Linked DNA regions of Homo sapiens: regions 1, 2, 3, 4, 5 and 7 are each linked to region 6. The links are contacts of gene promoters, found by promoter capture Hi-C in blood cells and fetal thymus (Javierre and others, 2016). All regions are on one chromosome and are shown on one strand. The core of a region is centred on a gene start or on the middle of the fragment in contact, and the rest is flanking DNA. Distances in the headings are between cores, read along the strand shown.

Region 1 (2,700 bases), core at 100-2,599, 370 kb after region 6:
GCCTATTTATTGGTATTGGTAACCTTCTCTCTACCTAGTTTAGTGCAAAGCATCCTGATCTCTTCTCTCCCTGCAATGATCCTTTACTCCCCGTATTTTGGCCACTTTCCTCATAGTCATACCTGGCCTGGTCAGCACAAATAATTTCAACAACTTCAAATTCAATCATAGCTCTGTACTCTGACCACCACTTCCTATTCTTCTAGATGACTTATTCTTACTCCTCAAAACCTACAATTGTTTGACCCTATCAGGGCCTCTGACCTATTGACTCTTTTAACTTTTTCATCACTCATCAACCGTCGTAGGTCCTCCCCTCCCTTTGAGCCTCGTCTAAAGTCAATGGCCTTATAATCACTATCTTTGAAACACTATTAATTTGCTTGCTGTCCTCACTCTCCATCTTGCTTGTTTGGCAAAATATCAACTCTAGCTAAACCCAATTGTGGATAATTGGCTAATTTTCCACACCTGTTCCTGAGCAGAGGCCTGTGAGTAAAGAGCATCACAATCACAACCTTTTCCTTTCTTTTCTTTTCTTTTTTTTTTTTTTTTTTTTTGAGACAGGATCTTGCTCTGTTACACAGGCTAGAGTGCAATAGTGTGATCACGGCTCACTGCAACCTCTGACTCTCGAGCTCAAATGATCCTCCCACCTTAGCTTCCTGAGTAGCTAGAACTACAGACATGCTCCACTGTGCCTGGCTAATTTTTGTATTTTTTGTACAGATAGGGTTTTGCCATTTTGCCTAGGCTGGTCTTGAACTCCTGGACTCAAGTGACCTGCCCTTCTTGGCTTCCCAAAGTGCTGGGATCACAGGCATGAGCCACCGCACCTGGCCCAATCTTCTTTATTATCACAACTTTTTTTTTTTTTTTTTTTTTTTTTTTGAGATGGAGTCTCACTCTGTTGCTCAGGCTGGAGTGCAATGGTGTGATCTTGGCTCACTGCAACCCTCGCCTCCAGGATTCAAGCTATTCTCCTGCCTCAGCCTCCTGAGTAGCTGGGATTACAGGTGCATGCCACCACGCCAAGCTAATTTTTGTATTTCTACTAGAAGTGGGGTTTCACCATGTTGGCCAGGCTGGTCTTGAACTCCTGACCTCAGGTGATCCACCACCTCAGCCTCCCAAATCGCTGGGATTACAGGTGTGAGCCACTGCCTGGCCCTGGCCTTTTATCACAACTTTCTCTACCTCTCTGGGCCTTCTCAGCCTTTACAATATGTAAATGTTTTCTGTTTTTGTTTTTGTTTTCATTTTTGTTTTTGTTTTTGTTTTGAGACAGAGTTTTGCTCTTGTTGCCCGGGCTGGAGTGCAATGGTGCGATCTCGGCTCACCGCAACCTCCGCCTCCTGGGTTCAAGTGATTCTCCTGCCTCAGCCTCCCGAGTAGCTGGGATTACAGGCATGCGCCATCATGCCTGACTAATTTTGTATTTTTAGTAGAGACGGGGTTTTTCCATGTTGGTTAGGCTGGTCTCGAACTCCCGACCTCAGTTGACCCACCCACCTCAGCCTCCCAAAGTGCTGGGATTACAGGTGTGAGCTACCGTGCCCAGCCATGGTTTCTGTTCTTATCAGAGGCTTGTTCATTCAATCTTGTCTGCTTCGGAAGATCACTTCTAGAATTAACTGTCAGTCTTTGCCATCTTCCAGTTCTCTCTACTGAACACTTCCACAAGCATAAAACCATCTTCAAAACAAAAACAGATCTTCCCTTGAACACACATGCACATAAAGCTACAGCCCTATTTTTTCCACTCCAGGGAAAAACTTGAAGATATTCCCGGTTAGCATTTTTACTTCCTCTTTTCCCCTTTACTCTTTAACCCTCTCAGCTGGACTTCCACCCTAACCACTCCACAAAAACTGCTTTATCAGACGATTAATGAGGTCTATGTTTCTGTGATGGTTAATTTTATTTGTCAGCTTGACTAAGGGATGCCCAGATAGCTGATGAAACAGTATTTCTTAGAATGCCTGTAAGAAGCATTTGAATCAGCGAGCAAAGAGGGCCCACCCTCACCAATGTAGGTAGGCATTATGTAATCAGTTAAGGGTCAGAATAGAATTAAAAATGCCAGGCACAGTGGCTCATGCCTCTAATACCAGAACTTTGGGAGGCTGTGGTGGGAGGATTGCTTGAGCCTAGGAGTTAAAGACAAACCTGGGCAACATAGTGAGACCCTGTCTCTCTAAAAAAAAAAAAAAAAAAAAGAATAAAAAGGTAGAGGGGTGGGCGTGGTGGCTCACACCTGTAACTCCAACACTTTGGGAGGCCAAGACAGGTGGATCACTTGAGGCCAGGAGTTTGAGACCAGCCTGACCAACATGGTGAAATCCCATTTCTACTAAAAACACAAAAATTAGCCGGGTGTGGTGGCATGCTCCTGTAATCCCAGCTACTCGGGATGCTCAGGCATGAGAATCGCTTGAGCCTGGGAAGCGGAGGTTGCAGTGAGCCAAGATCATGCCACTGTACTCTAGCCTGGGCAACAGAGCGAGACTGTCTCAACAACAAAACAAAACAAGAACAACAAAAAAAAAGGTAGAGGAAGAGCAAATTTGTTGTCTTTTTGAGCTGCGACATGTATCTTCTCCAGTTCTTGGACATTGGCGCTCCTGCTTCTCAAGCCTTAAGGCTTATGCAGAGTATACCTCCACCTTCTGGGTTTTCCAGCTTGCTGATGGCATATTG
Region 2 (2,700 bases), core at 167-2,666, 310 kb after region 6:
CTTGTGGAGTATTCAAGCCAGGAATTATTCAAAGAGTAATGAAGACACGTCAAAAAGACACAGAAACCAGCTTGAAGGGGTTCCCACTGGCCACATATAGGGTAGCTGGAAGATCAAAAATGATAGTAATGAATTATAATCTACTGAATAGAATATATTGATATAAATTGCTAAAATGAATGGGATATTTCATAGACTCAAAGTATCACTTCACAAAAGACTTATAAATTATAAAAAGGAAAACAGTAACTTTAGAGTGCATAAGTCAGATAGATACCATGTTAATCAAACGTCCAAAGTTAACATCACCAAGGACAAATTGAAATCATGGGCCAAATGATAGGATGAAAAAGAATATAACATCAATCCTGTGATACTCCTGTCAAAGATGCATAACTGAAATATATTCATGAGGAAAGAGAGAAACCCAAATTGGTTTCTCTCAAAGACGTGCTACAAAAAACCCAAAGACATGCTACAAAAAAACTGGTCTGTAATCCCCAAAAGTGTCAAGATCAATGCAACTCAAGGGGAAGACTAAGGAACTGTTCCAGATGGATGGAAATTAAAAATAGGTAACAACTAAATGCAACACACAATTCTGATCTGAATCTTTTTGCTCTAAAGAATTACTGAGATAATTGGTGGAATTTGAATGACATCAGAGTATTAGATGGTAGTAAAGTACCCATGTTATATTGTGGTTATCCAGGGCAATGTTCTTGTTTATAGGAAATCCATACCACAGTACTCCCGTTGCAGTGGACAATGTGGTACATAATCTGATCCTTAGCTGCCAGAAGTCCTGATAATAGACAGCCCTCAACAATCAGTCATCTTGGGGGACCGACACAGCTGAAGAATGCTGCCTCGCTCAGGGATCTGCACCCTGCCCAGGGCACTCCACATCTAATAGCTTGTTTTCACAGAAGCAGAGGCCCAACCCTTTTGCCCAACTCCAGACAACACAAAAGTGTCATCCCATCTCCAAAACTCCCTACGGTGTTAGCTGAGGCTTCCACTGAAACTATATTACACCTTTACTTCTACCTCTGCCCAAGCCTGCTTCTTTCCCTTCCCTTCCCAAGGTGAGAATTTCACCAGCACACTACTCAATCAACTACTTGCATGTTAACCTTTGTCTCAGAAACTGCTTGCCAAGGAACTCAATCTGTGAGAGGAATGATAGGGCATCATATCAGAAACTTATTATCCAATGATTTAGGAGAGGAGAAAAAAAGTTTGTTGTGCCATACTTGAAACTCTTCTGTAAATTTAAGACTGTTTCAAAATGTAAAAAGGAATAAAAAAATTCGGTGGGAAAAACACAGGAGAACAACATGAAGAAAAGCAGAAAAGAAAAAAGTATGATGGAGGTCACAGTTCAATAAAGAAATTAGACTAACCAATGGACAGTGTATTCCAGGTAATAATGGGAAGTAAAAGAAGATAGGCAAAAAGAACACATCTCTTACACGGCATTTATTTCTCAAATGTGATTGTTGCATAGCTACAAAATCAGGGTTAACAATTCACCTTTTTTCAAATTGTCATTAAGAAGTCCCTTTGAGCAGAAAAAAAAAAAATTCTAGGACGTTTTTTAAACCAGAAGATCTTTCTCATGCACATAAAATTCAGCCAGTTCACAAAATGTACCACATCTTATATTATCATTATCACATTTGCCTATTTTCTTTCACAATTCAAGCATGCCTGAAGCTACTATCTACATGTCTTCAACTCTTTCCTATCTTAAAAACAAAAATACTTTCTGTAACCTTGCTATTCAAAATATGGTCCCTGGACCTGTAGCACTGAAATCCCTGGGAATGTGTTAGAAATGCAGAATCTCAGGCCCCACTTCAAACCTAATGAAACACAATTTGCATTTCAATAAGATTCCCAGATGATGTATGCAAATTAAAATTTGGGAAGCAGGGGTCTAGTTTTCACTGTGTGATATAACATAGGGGCTTCATCCCACCTTTATAATGAAACACAGTCAAATTCAATTCAAATTGATGGCTTATTTCTAAACCATAAGAGAACTGAAGTCACAGAGCAATCAACTGGCCCTAAATCAAAAGAGGGGCAGGCACCTGCAAGGACAGACAGGATCTTAGTACTTGCTTACTTAGGATAGCTGCAACTGGACACCATAAGAGGGTACAGCTAAATAGTAGGTGAACAGGTGAAGGCAGAGTGGGAGATTTTGAGGCAGTATGAAGCTACTAGGGTATGCATAAACTGGGGGAGTCCACACCTTCTTGCAGGTTCTGTTGCTAGAAATCACACCAGATACACACAAAAAAGACAAGAAAGCCCTAAGAAAGTGCCCATTGTAGTAGAAACCTGAAGGAGGGGAATAGCAGTATTGTAGGAAGAACATGAAACTCTACCTGGATCCTTCTCCCAATCTCTACGAGTCAATCCTTAATCTGAGCGGTGAACCAATTAAACCTTTTTTTAATAAATTACCCAGTCTCAGGTTATTTCTTTATAACAGCATAAGAATGGCCTAATACATACCTGTTTTACCCATCTCTCCCCTCCCTTCTTAAATAAGGAAGGCTATATAAGTATGTGGGCCCCATTAGGATAGCGGGTAATCACTCTGTGATTTTCCCCCATGCATGCCAATAAATTTGTAGGCCATTTCTCTTATTAATCTGCCTTCTGTCAGTGAATCTTCAGAGGGCA
Region 3 (2,700 bases), core at 133-2,632, 270 kb after region 6:
CTTCATATATATTCCTCTTCAATATTTATCCCTGTGTATACCTAATTATATGTAGATATAATCATTATGTAAACATAGCTTTGTTTTCTTCCTCAATCCGTACCCCTGCATAGCCACACATTTTCTCACAAACTCTTTTCCAAACTGCTACACAAACTTAAAGACTTCTAAGTTCAACTGAATTGACGGGTCTATATTCTACTTAAATCTCTCTTTACCGCCATAGCCACTGCTACTTCTTCAACATTATAAGTGAAATAACAATAAGCATTTCCATGTATATTTCTTCCCCAATGATTTGTTTAAAAGTCAAACAGTATTAATATTTGTGCATCTTCATGAAGCATTCATCCTTGACAACGCTGCACATACTTACATAGCAATTTCAGTATACATAAATGTAGACACACATACCAATTATCCTGCAACTTCACCTACATTATAAAAATTTTATTTCATTTTTATTTATTTTATTTGTTTTAGAGACAGGGTCTCCCTTTGTCACCTAGGCTGGAACGCAGTGGTATGATCATAACCCACTGCAGCCTTGGCTCAAGCCATCTTCCTGATCTCTTCCCGAACTCTTTGGCTCAAGCGAGCCTCCTGACTCAGTCTCCCCAGTAACTAGAACTACAGACACATGCCACTATGCCTAGATAATTTTGTTACTTTTATTATTTTTTTTTTTTGTAGAGCCAGGGTCTCCCTATGTTGCCCAGGCTGATCTTGAACTCCTGGCTTCAAGAAATCCTCCCACCTTGGCCTCCCAAATGAGATTACAGGCTCTGGGAGCCACCACACCCAGATCATTATAAAAATTTAAAATTGTTATTTTTGTAAATGGTTTTCAAAATTTGCATTCCTATGATGACTATCAAGTTTATATACTTTTCAATTAAGTTTCATTTCCTCATACAAATATTTATTGAGAAGCTACTATGTGTCAAACTCTGTACTGGGTGTACCATGGAGATGGACTAATCTTATGCAGTCTGTCTCTCTCCTCCAGGAACTTCTAGTTAGGTACACAGGGAAAGACAAAATAAGTTCTATCAAACATTACAGTTACTATGATAGCTACATAATCTTTAGTCTTGAATGAAATGTTTTCTCTTATACATTGTCTATTTAGCTATCATATCCTACAGTTTTTTTTTTGTTTGTTTTTTTTTTGAGACGGAGTCTCTCTCTGTGGCCCAGGTTGGAGTGCAGTGATGTAATCTCGACTCACTGCAAGCTCCGTCTCCTGGGTTCATGCCATTCTCCTGCCTCAGCCTCCTGAGTAGCTGGGACCACAGGTGCCCACCACCACGCCCGGCTAATTTTTTGTATTTTTAGTAGAGCCGGGGTTTCACTGTATTAGCCAGGATGGTCTCGATCTCCTGACCTCATGATCCACCCGCCTCGGCCTCCCAAAGTGCTGGAATTACAGGTGTGAGCCACCCCGCCCAGCCCACATCCTACAGTTTTTCTAACAAATTTAATAGTAGACATTAATATTTTGACAATAGCTTGCATAAAAATTTTTCAACTCTTATTTTGAGGCTTTTGGTGGTGGTAGTGGTATTAGTAGTATGACCACTGCTTGATATTAATAGTCAAAACTGTTATTTTCGTTATGCCAAAACTTTAAAAGGTATCATTCATGCAGAGTTTTAACAAGAAGAAATTTTCTTCATTCCACATGCTGATAAAGTTAATCCTAGCTTCTTGTTTTTTGACTTTAACATATTTACTCATTTGAATATATGCATAGAGAAATCATTATATTCTATTTCAGACTCCTGACTTTCCCATATACAGAAAATAACCATTGCCAATAGGCCCCACTTTCACTTCCCACCCATTCTGTTAAATTCCTCTTGCAACCAAGGCTTTCCTTGCCCCTCACTTTAGGAATACCAGTCAGTGATTTCTGACCCAATTATCTCAAGAGATATAATGTCAATAGGGTGGAGAAGAGGAAAAAAAGTGATATACTTTTCTCACTCCCTGATCCAGGACCTGAAACAAATTTTTCCATTGTGAAAACATTTATTTATACATTATCATTATGTCTTACAATACTCTAGGCCCCATAGTTAACTACACTGGGGCTAATTGTAGAACTTGAGTCCCATCTGTAATACTGTTTTATAAGAAAATATTTTTTGAATTTCAAACAACCAAATTACAAGTGAGGTTTTAAAATACACCTGTGTCAACTGGAACCTGCATGTGTATCTGTATTTATTCTATCATGGGTAAATTTCAGAGTTAGCTTTTGTCATGAGTAGATGGCTGGTCACTAACTTCAAATACTTCAGGCTGTATAGAATCAAAATGTTATGTTACAGAGTAGAAGATTTGATTCTAAAAACAAGCAGAGTCAACAACTAAGGAACAGAATCACTGTTGCCATAAACCAGTGAGGGGTTTATCACAATACACACGCAGACACACACACACTCAATATAGTAATACTAGTTTAGTAATCTGATGCTTTTGTCATAGAGAAGAGAAAATGAACCTGCTTTTAATACAGAAAGAAAACAATTATTATGCCCCAGGAAAATAAACTTCTGATCCCAACTTTAATGCTAAAATTTTTAAGACAAATTGCTAGAATGTTAGAATATCCTTATTCCCTCAAAACTCCAGCTGGTATCAGGGGCTAGTCTCACTTTACTTACAAATTGTAAGATATGGACACATGTAAAC
Region 4 (2,700 bases), core at 134-2,633, 420 kb after region 6:
TACACATGCATTTGGCTGCCTGAAGTTGTCCCACCCTTTACTGATGCTCTATTTATTTTGGTAGGAGGTGTGTGTCTCATTTTATTCTTTTTTCTCTCTGTTTCAGGGAGGTTCTACTGCTGCATCTTCAAGTTCACTGATCTTTCTTTCTGCAATATCTAATCTGCCATTAATCTCATCTAACATATTTTTCATCTCAGACATTGGAGTTTTCATCTCTAGAAGTTTGATACGGGTCTTTTTATACCTTCATTGTCTGTAATATCTTCAGTCTTTCCTCTGGTTTCTTGAATACATGGAATATAATTATAATAACTGTTTTAATGTCCTTGTCTAATAATCTTCATCATCTGTAATTTCTGAGTCAGTTTTGACAGAATGTTTTATTTTTTGTTTGTTTTGAGATGGAGTCTTGCTCTGTTGCCCAGGCTGGAGTGCATTGGCACAATCTCACTGCAACCTCTGCCTCCTGGGTTCAAGCAATTCTCCTGCCTTAGCCTCCTGAATAGCTGGGACTACAGGTGAGCACCACCACTCCCTGCTAATTTTTGTATTTTTAGTAGAGACGGGGTTTCGCCATGTTGGCCAGGCTGGTCTTGAACTCCTGACCTCAGGTCATCCACCTACCTTGGCCTCCCAAAGTGCTGGGATTACAGGTGTGAGCCACTGCACCTAGCCCAGAATGTTTTATTTTTCTTATTATGGGTTGTATTTTTCTGTTGCATGCCTGGTAATTTTTGATTGGATGCCAGCCATTGTGAATTTTACTTTGTAGATTATTTTCATATCCCTAAAACAGTTTGAACTTTCTTCTGGAGTATGATTAAGTTATTTGGACACAGTTTGAATGTTTTTGGGTCTCTCTTTTAAGCTTTGTTAGGTTATTCTAGAGCATTTAGTCGAGGGTTAATTTTTCCCGCTATTGAAGCAAGACCTTTCTTAGTACTCTAACTGGTGCCTTGTGAATTAGGATCTTTTCCACTCTTGCTGACGGGATCAGGAATCATTCACCATCCTGTGTGAGCTTTGAGTATTGTTTTCTTTAATCCTTTCTGATGGTTCTTTGCCAAGCCTTTGGTTATTTCCTCTCATGCATGTACTAATCATTATTTAGCTTAATACTTCAGGAGAATGGTCAGCAGATCTCTGGAGTTCTCTCTGTGTCACTCTGTCCTCTCTAGTATTCTACCCTGTGAACTCTAGTTGCCTTGGGCTCTCAGGACTCCCACTTATATCTCCTCACCTCACAGAGTCTTCTGGGTTCCCTCTCCCCATGCCAAAGCCTTTCTTCAGGCAGCAAGTTGGAGCAATTGTATTGCTCACCTTGTTTGCATTCCATCTCTCATGGATTACTATCCTTCACTGCCTATGTCCAATGCCTTCAGGGCCATTGTTTCATATATTTTGCCCATTTAAAAAAAGTATTTGGAAGTTTATAATTACTTTCTACTTAAATTTACTAGCTGTCACAATCATTACTGAAGAAATTCACTCTTGCAATAATATACATATGTACTTCATTTGACACAGAATTTCAACATGTAAAGCATATAAGAATTTCTTGCCACAATCATGTTTAGAATGCTTACCTATAAGGTGAATATTAAAATATTAGTAAATACAATGACTTTTTTCAGATTAGACATGATAAATAACCTGCAAGGTTACTTGACCATTGGTCACACAGAATTTCAGAGAGATCAGAACCAGTGTCAAAATAGGTATTTGTCTTTTTGGCTTTTTAAAGGTCAAGGTTGAATCAAGGGTAAACGAAAATATTGCATGAACATGAAGCTAAAATTGAATTTTATGTAACACAACAACAGCACTGGGTAAATAGAGATAGGTGGATAGACTGTCTCAGTTTCTTTTTAATAATTTTTATTTTTTTAATCGAAGCTTTACACATAATTTAAAAACTCAAAGGTAACAAAACCTAATATGAAAAAAGCCCACCATGATGAAGCAGCTGTTCTGCAGGTGTTTTGCCCTCATTCTGTGTGTCTACTTTCAATTCCAAATGGGCTTATATGACCAAAGAGATGCAGGATCTAACCAACATGTACCAACAGGAACCATGAGCATGTGTATGGAACTGGGTCCTGAGAGTGCTGGACAAGAATTAAGTTTGTGTTTATATAGGACAGCAGTACCCATTTATAGTATTGGCTTAGGGTTATGTTAACTCTTCCACACTGCGTCATAATCCGAAGAGATCTAGACCATCTAAACATCCCACATAATGTCACAATGACCTACCACATTGATGACATCATGCTAGCTGGATAAGGTGAATAATAAGCAGCTAGCATACTGTACACTGGAGGATGGGAAATAATCCTTAAGACCCAGCAAGCTGTTACCTCAGTGAAACTTTTAGGGCCCAGTAGGCTGCTTGAATGCCAAGATATCCCCTTCACAGTAAAGGACAAATTATTGCATCTCACCCACTCATTTCACCAAAATTATTCTGCCACCAGGGAAGCACACCAAGCTGTGTAGGCTTCTGTGGGAATTCAGAAGTTGGCAGTACTGTTCTGACTCGTAAACTGGGTGAGATAGAAATCTGCCAGTTTTCAGTGGGATCCATAGCATGTAAAAGTTCTCTAGCAGGTATGGTGTATTTAGCCCTGTTGCATGGACCAATTCAGGATATTCTATGGGACAAGAGTAAATGTGATAAGAAGCCATGAAAGTTGA
Region 5 (2,700 bases), core at 41-2,540, 290 kb after region 6:
GTTCAGAATCACAAGTAACAAAGTTTTCCCAAGTATAAGCCAGAGAGTATCTTTACGTGTCAACATTATACCTAAAAATTAACAATTATTACAGGCAGCAGCCTACCTGGTCTTATAACAATAAGCATCTCACCATTTGTTTAAGGTAAAAAGGTAGAAAATTCTACCTTCTTTATGATCAACCAACTGGACAGAATTAATTGTTATCATATAGAGAAGAACCCATAGAGTGGATCACTCTAAAGATTTAGTACAACCAGATTATCCAAAGAAACGCATTACAAACTAGATGTACATCTTCAAAAATATTTATTTATATTTTATAACAACAAAAGAACTAAGGAATTTAGTATAAAAAAGTAAAAGTCAAATCTCCATTGATAACCTACATAAAAGGAAATATGGTCCACATTAGTGACTGGTATTTTCCAAGTTCCATAATGGCTTTACAGTAAGAAATACACTAAAACCTCGAGTTTAATTAACTTTCATAGTATTTAGAAAGTTCTAAGAAGCAAACTTAAGCTTTATTTTTCCTTTTTTAGAAGAATTAAGAAATGAAGATATATATACTAATCTTACAGAATTTCACATCTGATTAAAATATATTCTTATTTTTGATTAGCATCATTAACTCAAAATCTCCTTTGAAAGCATCCAAGTGGTTTGCCAAATTTCTAACTAAGAATACAGGATACTGCTATACTCCAGAGAATTTTCTGGTGAAGTAAACATGCAAAAGTGGTTATTTACATACCAGAACTATTTGTTAGTTGCATTAGTCTCATCATCACTACAGTTCTGACACTGTGAGAAGTCCTTGTCAGTTGACTGGAACATCTTGAAATACCTAAAAATTCAACAAGCAGGACCTCCCCAGTAGAATGAGAGTATATGGAGTCCTTGCTTTTACTTCTTCAAATTCCCAACTCATTGAGTAAAACATTAAAAATATTCTACAACAGCGAAGAAGAAAAGATAAGGGCTAGGCAAGTAAAAAACGTGTAGTAATAAAGAAAAAAATCAAATAATGTAATCAATATTCCTTTCTTTCTTTCCTACTACACATAAAAAATTAAAAACCAGAGGCAATAACAAATGTTAAGAGAAAGAAATATAAAATAAAGGAGATACAACAGGGAGGAAAACTACTGGCACAGAGGTGAAAGTAAAATCAAAACACAGATTCTGCCTCCTGCTTCACAAAGAACCTACAGAGTACAAGAGGAATCATGAAAAGAACATTTCCTAGAAAGTGACAATCTTATTAGGAAGTATCTATTAATTTATTTTATATTATTATTATTTTTTTGAGATGGAGTCTCACTCTGTCTCTCCCAGGCTGAAGTGCAGTGGCGCGATCTCGGCTCACTGCAGCCTCCACCTCCCAGATTTAAGCGATTCTCCTGTTTCAGCCTCCCGAGTAGCTGGGACTACAGGTGTGTGCCACCACACCTGGCTAATTTTGTATTTTTAGTAGAGATGAGGTTTCACCATGTTGGCCAGGCTGGTCTCGAACTGACCTCAGGTGATCCACCCACCTCGGCCTCCCAAAGTGCTAGGATTACAGGCGTGAGCCACCATGCCCAGCCCAATTTTTTTTAAAATCAGAAGTTATTCTTTCTTATGTTAACTGAATCAAAACAAAACATACATCAGAAGTAAAAAAAAAAAAAATTACCTATAAAATACAAAACGGAACTTGTAAATCAGCCCAAGGTTTCAGTGATCTGTATGGGTTTTAAAATGTAATTACTGCCAGTATAACATCCCTGAAAATAGTCACAATACATCCCAGAAGGTTTATTTCCATATATATATATTTTATGAATTAATTTCAGAATTTTCTTTTGACATATAATAAACTATCTACACTTACATTGGAAATGTGTTCTGCTCCAATGTTTTATTAAATCAACTATGGAGTTAAAACAGTTCTTTCCATCTGTGTGTGTGTGTGCGTGTGTGTGTGTGTGTGTGTGTGTGTGTCTGTGTGTATTATATACATCATACTCTTTTCCTTTTCTGGATATTTTAAAACAATAAGATAACTATTAAGCTTGTACTTCACCATACCACATTTGCCATATTACTTTCCATAATGGCTGAGTAACCTCTTATCAGAGGAATTCTCCTGCATGGAACAACCACAAACTACAAACAAAAATACAACAAATTAACTACCTGAAAGCACTGGAAAATTATTGAAACCAGGTTGATCTAGAGGGGAATCAACACAGAAAAAGAAATGACACTAAGTGAGTTAGTTACCTGTTTGTTGCAGCTTTCAGCCTGTGGGCAGGCTCCAGTCACAACATGCAGAGCAACTAAAGCTCTGATGAAAATTCCTCAGTCTCTGTCTGAAGAACCAGAGGATGAGGTGCCAGGTAACCAAACAACTAGAAAGTGAGAGAGGAATCCTGGAAAGGATAGAGTCAGAAAGGAAGAGTCCTAAATTCTGTGCATACATTCAGTTCAAGTCTACAGCTGGCTTGTGGAACCACACATGTGCAGGGAAAACTCCAAAAATACCGACTAAGGGCAAAATAAGTAAAGATTTGAAGGCATCCCACAAGAGTTTGCAGTTTGAACCTAACCATTAAATGCCTGCTAAAACAAACAAAAATCAATGCTTTTCAGATGAACAAGACAGAATCCAGAGTCTCTACAATGTAGCAATTACAGGAATAACTAGGATAC
Region 6 (2,700 bases), core at 93-2,592:
CCTGTATAAACAGGAGAATTACTGGGGAGTAAAATTTGATATTTTAGAAAGAGAAGAGGATTTTAGAATCAGAAATAAAATCGATGCTCCGGCATGGGTTAATTGTGCAAACTTTTGAAAGTCTTTTAACCTGGTTGTGGGCCATTTTTCCTCATCTATGAAGTGGAGAGCATGCTATTTCGCATGGTTTTAGTGAAGAATAAGACACATAACCTGGTGAAAGCACCAAGGAAGATGGCTGGGTTCAAAGTACCCCATAAATATCACCTCTTCCCTTTCTTCAGGACTTCCATTCCTGTCTCAGAGGAGGGTGGATGTGGCTGGTGGTCTCCTTTTGTCTGTCTGTGGATACATAGATGGACATCACACACAGACACACATGTGCACACACTGTTCTTGAAAAGCCCACTAACACCTGCCCCCTTCCATGATTTGTCCACAGAACAGCATGTTTTTCAGCTGAGGGCTCACATGTACCAAGCCCGGGGCCTCATCGCAGCTGACAGCAATGGACTTTCAGACCCTTTTGCCAAAGTCACGTTCCTTTCTCACTGCCAGACAACAAAGGTAACCAGGGTAACCAAGACAGCCTGCTTCTTTCCTGCAGCCTGCAACTGACCCACAGAAGATCCCAGGAAAGAAACAACGGGGGCATGTTGCAAATACCTGCATCTTTGGGTGTGTAGATGTTTCAGACTGAAAAGCGAATATGTGCCCAGAAGGACTGGTGTGGGGAAGGTCTATTGTTTCAGTGTGATTCATTGTCCTAGGGCAAAGGATGCAAGTCCCTGAGGCGAAGGAAGGCTGGGAGAAAAAGAGGAATGAGGCGGAGAAGGCTAAAGTGCCAGGCACGAGGCCAAGTGCAGTGGGGAAGGAGCAAATGAGGAAACAGCACAGATCAACCTGCAGGAGGTTTATGATCCAATCATTATGAAGGGGTCTCAGTGGGGAGAAACATTTTCCAGTTTTGTGGTCAAGATGCGCTAGACTTTGCACTCACCAGCTGGGGAGCTTCGCATGCTTTTAACATCTTTATGCTTCACAGTCCCCCTCCTCTGGAAAATACTACTTCATAATGGATATTGTGAGTATTAAGGGAGATGGGTTGTCTTAATCCATTTAGCATTGCTTATAACAGAATACCTGAAACTGGGTAATTTCTAAAGAAAAGGAAATTATTTTTTACAGTTATGGAGGCTGGAGGTCCAAAGTTGAGGAGCCGTATCTGATGAGGGCCTTCTTGCTGGTGGGACCCTGCAGGTTCCGAGGCAGCACAGGGCATCACGTGGCAAGGGGGTGGAGCATGCTAATATGCTCGCTCAGGCCTCTCTTCCTCTTCTTCTGAAGCCACCAGTTCCCCTCCCATGACAGCCTATTAATCATAGATTAATCCATTTGTGAAGGCAGATCCTTTATGACCCAAACACCTCTTAAAGGTCCCGCCTCTCAATACTGTGACATTAGGGATTAAATTTCAACATGAGTTTTGGAAAAGACAAATATGCAAATCATAGTATGGGTCTGTGCCTGTTTCCTCTGTCTTTCTCCCTATCCTATACAACTAGTACTAAAATGTGAAAGGATTCCTAATCAGCAAAAATCCAGTAGGATGCTTGTCTCATTAGATTCTGTTCTTTAAACATTTATTCTGTTCTCTGATTTGTGGTTTGAAAAGAGGAAAACTCAGTAAAGAATTGCCCATCTCAGGGAGTTAAGCACCATGGGTTAGCACACACAGTGCCCTAAGGTTACTTTCTAGCTCATCTCCTCTTTGGCTGCATGTCTTTGGGCAAGTAACACAACTCACTAAACCTCAGGTTTGTCATTTTAAGATGGGACTGTCATGAAGAAGCAGATATTTAAGTTTATAAAATGATTGATAAATGATGGCCATGACATTGGCTGATGTTGAGAGGGCTAACATTGTTCTCCAGGGCAAAGCCCATGACCTCGATGATAGAGTAGACTGCATTTTGATTTATGACTCGCACACTGACAGCGTGATGTGAACCAGCCTCACATTCATTGAACCAGTGCCTGTCGGGTGCTGGCTTTTTGCCAGGCCACATGCTGGGCTCTGGAGGATGAGAGGAACCAGACTCTGCTCCAGTGTAATATACAATCCAGGCATGGATGCAGGCCTCATGACACACGAGTCACTACACTATGATAAGCCTCAGGGTGCAGGGCTGTACAGAGTCCTACAAGAGCCAGGTAGAGAAAGGGTTAGTTCTACCTGGGGGAGAAGTCAGGAGACACCTCAGAAGAAAGGTGACTTCATCCTCATTCAGTGACTGAGCATAAAAATGAGAAGACAACAGACTGCTTTCTCTTTCCTGTGTTTTGAGAGTTAGTATAGAGCATGGTGATGATGAGTATAGACTCTGGAGCTGCGCTGTCTGGGTCAAAATCCACGCTCTTCCATTTATCAGCTGTGTGACTCTAAACAAACCTCTGTTTGTGCCTCAATTTCTTTATCTGTGAAATAGGGATGATAACCTTGTACATTCCTTCCAGAGGATAAAATACCCAGGACAGTACCTTGCTTAAAACTAAGGCCTATGTGACTGCTTGTTGTTGTTGTAATTGAGGCTTCCTTCCTACAGCAAGGGAGTTCTCATAGGATGGACCCCTGGAGCCCTCCTCCACCTGCCACAACACTGTGGAGTTCCAGGGCCTTAGTGAAGTACAGGATTTGGA
Region 7 (2,700 bases), core at 39-2,538, 400 kb after region 6:
ATCAAGTGCCGATTTACTGAGCATGAGACAAATACATAACTGACTATTCCCCTACCTGTTCCTTGTCTCTTGCAACATGTGGATTCTGTGATGTGACTGGACCTTCCCTCTTTCCAGCCTGCTTTTCCCCTTTAGATATTGAAGCCCACAAAATCATCTTTGGAGAAAGGCACAGATCGCAGACTGTTTCTGTGGTTTCTATATTCCCTTCTTCTGGCGTGTGCCTTACATTGGCTTCTAAACTTTACAAACTTCTAAATTGACTGAGACTTGTGTCAGACATATTTTGGTTGACAAATTGGCATCCAACAGAAGGGACTCTGAGTGGAGGTGGTCCTGACTGTTGAGAAATCTGACTTTGGTGCTTGGTACCAGCCCGGGCTACTTTTATTGCTCAAACTGTTACAGGAAAGGGGTCTGGAGCCAGACCACAGAGTGAGTTCTTGGATCTCTGACAGGAAAGAATTCTGGGCCAGTCACAGAGCACAGTGAAAAAAGCAAGTTTATTAAAGACTACTCTATTACAGAGTAGGGCATCCTCAGAACTAACAACAAGAGGAGGCCAGGCACCGTAGCTCACACCTATAATCCCAGCACTTTGGAAGATGAGGTGTGACAACTGCTTGAGACCAGGTGTTCAAGACCAGCCTGGACAACATAATGAGACTCCATCTCTACTAAAAATAAAAAAAATTTGCCCTGCATGGTAGCATACCTGCAGTCCCAACTGCTAGAGAGACTAGGCAGTAGGATCTCATGAGTCTGGGATGTCAACGCTGCAGTGAGCCATTATTGTGCCACTGCACTCCTGCCTGGGTGACAGATAAGGCTTGTCTTGAAAGAAAAAAAAAAGGAAAAGAAAAAAAAAAGCAAGAGTAGGACTCTGAACACAAATAAAATGCTATATAATAAGGGAGCTGGCCAGGCATGGTGGCTCACACCTGTAATCCCAACACTTTGGGAGGCCAGGGAGGCTGGATCACTTGAGGTCAGGAGTTCAAGGCCAGCCTGGCCAACACGGTGAAACCCTGTCTCCATCAAAAATATAAAATATTAGCCAGGTGTGGTGGCGTGCACCCATAATCCCAGCTACTAAGGAGGCTGAGGCAGAAGAATCATTTGAACCTGGGAGGCAGAGGTTGCAGTGAACAGAGATCATGCCACTGCACTACAGCCTGGGTAACAAAGCGAGACTCTGTCTCAAAAAAAAAAAAAAAAAAAAAAAACAAGAAGAAGAAAGCAAGCTAAGAATAATAATGAACTTATGTGCTTTATTATAAAGGCTTGTGACCAGCTTGTGACAGGCTGATGTTATCCTCTTGTGTAACTATTGAGTTCAGCAGGAATTTAGGGATATACTATTACCTATTAGTATAAGAAACCTATTATCTATTAATATAAGAAGCCTATTCTTAGACTAAGAATACTTTTTGGTCTTGAGATATCAGGACTTCAAGACTTTCTGTTAAGTTCTGGGTCTTGTTTACTTATCATTAACTCATTCTCTCAACCATAAAGGTCCTGTGAAGGAGAGTGCCTAGCTTCCTGGGAATGGAATCCAGCAGGTTTCACTTCATTTGGCCTTATTCAAGACGGAGTCACTCTGGTTTGGACACCTCTGATATATTTTCCTCCTCCCTTTTATAAGGGGATCCTTAATTCTAAGGGGTACAGAGGGACAGAGGTCCATCTTCATAAATGTCTTCAAGGTGAACAGGAGCAATGATATTCCTCCCTAACCACTGGGATCCCTTGTATTTAGATTGGAGAGGAGTTCACTCAGCAAGTGTTGGCGTGGTGAGGACCAATCATTATTGTGACTTTCAACAAAAGGTGAAATCTGGAAAATTAGTAAGTGTTCAATTTAAAGAAGCTATTTAATAGGTTTACCTTGTTTTCTTTTCTTTTCTTTTTTTTTTTTTTTTTTTTTTTTTGACGGCATTTTGCTCTTGTTGCACAGGCTGGAGTGCAATGGCATGATCTCGGCTCACTGCAACCTCCGCCTCCCAGGTTCAAGCGAGTCTCCTGCCTCAGCCTCTTGAGTAGCTGGGATTACAGCTGTGTCCCACTATGCCCTGCTAATTTTGTATTTTTAGTAGAGATGGAGTTTCACTACGTTGGCCAGGCTGGTCTTAAAACTCCTGACCTCAGGTGATCCGCTTGCCTCGGCTTCCCAAAGTGCTGGGATTACTGGTGTGAGCCACTGTGCCTGGCTAGGTTTACCTTGTTTTCTTGCACAAAAATTACAACAGCAATACATTCCACAGCAACAAAACAGAATCTGTTCCAAGCATCTGAACAAAAAGGTTTTCCATGAACCAGACAATTGCTGGAACCACCCTGATATGGGGTCAACTGACAGTGTGTTAATGGCAGAGATATGGGTGTCTAAGTCCTTCATGGCCTGAGTAATATTATGTTAATATTATGGAATATACAAACAACATTCCATTTTGATGATAGCACAAGATCTCCCTTGAGCCGCTGTTAAAATGTCCAAAGCCATGCAGTTTCGTAAGGCTACCTGTCTAATTTGAGAAGTCTCTTCAGTTAGTAGGATAATGGCATGCTGTGTAGTATTGAAAGCTGTAGCTGTATGTTGGAATACAGATTCAACTTGCCACTTGACATCCATTACAGCCACCTCTGACAGTAATATAGCCCTCGAGAAAAACCACCAAGTAGGGTCAGGCGCGGTGG

Evidence for each region. Contacts are between HindIII fragments. The CHiCAGO score rates a contact against its expected background, and 5 or more counts as called.
Region 1: a contact is called between a fragment that was not itself captured here and the fragment with the promoter of FER1L6-AS1 in region 6, in 15 of 17 cell types (M2 macrophages, endothelial precursors, total CD4 T cells and 12 more). The highest score is 16.9, in M2 macrophages.
Region 2: a contact is called between a fragment that was not itself captured here and the fragment with the promoter of FER1L6-AS1 in region 6, in 8 of 17 cell types (M2 macrophages, M1 macrophages, neutrophils and 5 more). The highest score is 7.8, in M2 macrophages.
Region 3: a contact is called between a fragment that was not itself captured here and the fragment with the promoter of FER1L6-AS1 in region 6, in 3 of 17 cell types (M2 macrophages, M1 macrophages and naive CD4 T cells). The highest score is 5.4, in M2 macrophages.
Region 4: a contact is called between a fragment that was not itself captured here and the fragment with the promoter of FER1L6-AS1 in region 6, in 8 of 17 cell types (M1 macrophages, naive CD4 T cells, naive B cells and 5 more). The highest score is 8.7, in M1 macrophages.
Region 5: a fragment that was not itself captured here is called in contact with the fragment with the promoter of FER1L6-AS1 in region 6 in 12 of 17 cell types (M2 macrophages, M1 macrophages, M0 macrophages and 9 more); the score reaches 9.8 in M2 macrophages.
Region 7: a contact is called between a fragment that was not itself captured here and the fragment with the promoter of FER1L6-AS1 in region 6, in 16 of 17 cell types (M1 macrophages, activated CD4 T cells, M2 macrophages and 13 more). The highest score is 15.8, in M1 macrophages.

What each region holds. Positions count from the first base shown.
Region 1 is chr8:124,404,924-124,407,623 of GRCh38, forward strand. No RefSeq gene overlaps it. Among named protein-coding and RNA genes, the nearest start is that of TMEM65, 34 kb to the left of the region's middle. RefSeq lists a silencer at 1,512-1,712. The HindIII fragment of the contact is 5,784 bases long and covers 1-2,700 here.
Region 2 is chr8:124,353,673-124,356,372 of GRCh38, forward strand. The region is part of intron 1 of TMEM65 (transmembrane protein 65); the gene reads right to left. Among named protein-coding and RNA genes, the nearest start is that of TMEM65, 18 kb to the right of the region's middle. The HindIII fragment of the contact is 8,020 bases long and covers 1-2,700 here.
Region 3 is chr8:124,314,167-124,316,866 of GRCh38, forward strand. The region is part of intron 6 of TMEM65 (transmembrane protein 65); the gene reads right to left. Among named protein-coding and RNA genes, the nearest start is that of TMEM65, 57 kb to the right of the region's middle. The HindIII fragment of the contact is 4,894 bases long and covers 1-2,700 here.
Region 4 is chr8:124,462,406-124,465,105 of GRCh38, forward strand. It overlaps RNF139-DT (RNF139 divergent transcript), which reads right to left. Exons shown (of 2, transcript NR_108047.1): 2 at 88-2,700. Among named protein-coding and RNA genes, the nearest start is that of RNF139-DT, 11 kb to the right of the region's middle. The HindIII fragment of the contact is 1,028 bases long and covers 870-1,897 here.
Region 5 is chr8:124,331,510-124,334,209 of GRCh38, forward strand. All of the region lies in intron 1 of TMEM65 (transmembrane protein 65), which reads right to left. Among named protein-coding and RNA genes, the nearest start is that of TMEM65, 40 kb to the right of the region's middle. The HindIII fragment of the contact is 1,534 bases long and covers 524-2,057 here.
Region 6 is chr8:124,039,440-124,042,139 of GRCh38, forward strand. It overlaps FER1L6-AS1 (FER1L6 antisense RNA 1), which reads right to left and starts at 1,343. Exons shown (of 6, transcript NR_040044.1): 1 at 1,187-1,343. FER1L6 (fer-1 like family member 6) reads left to right here. Exons shown (of 41, transcript NM_001039112.2): 20 at 443-567. The HindIII fragment of the contact is 11,424 bases long and covers 1-2,700 here.
Region 7 is chr8:124,440,834-124,443,533 of GRCh38, forward strand. No RefSeq gene overlaps it. Among named protein-coding and RNA genes, the nearest start is that of TYW2, 8.6 kb to the right of the region's middle. The HindIII fragment of the contact is 6,278 bases long and covers 1-2,700 here.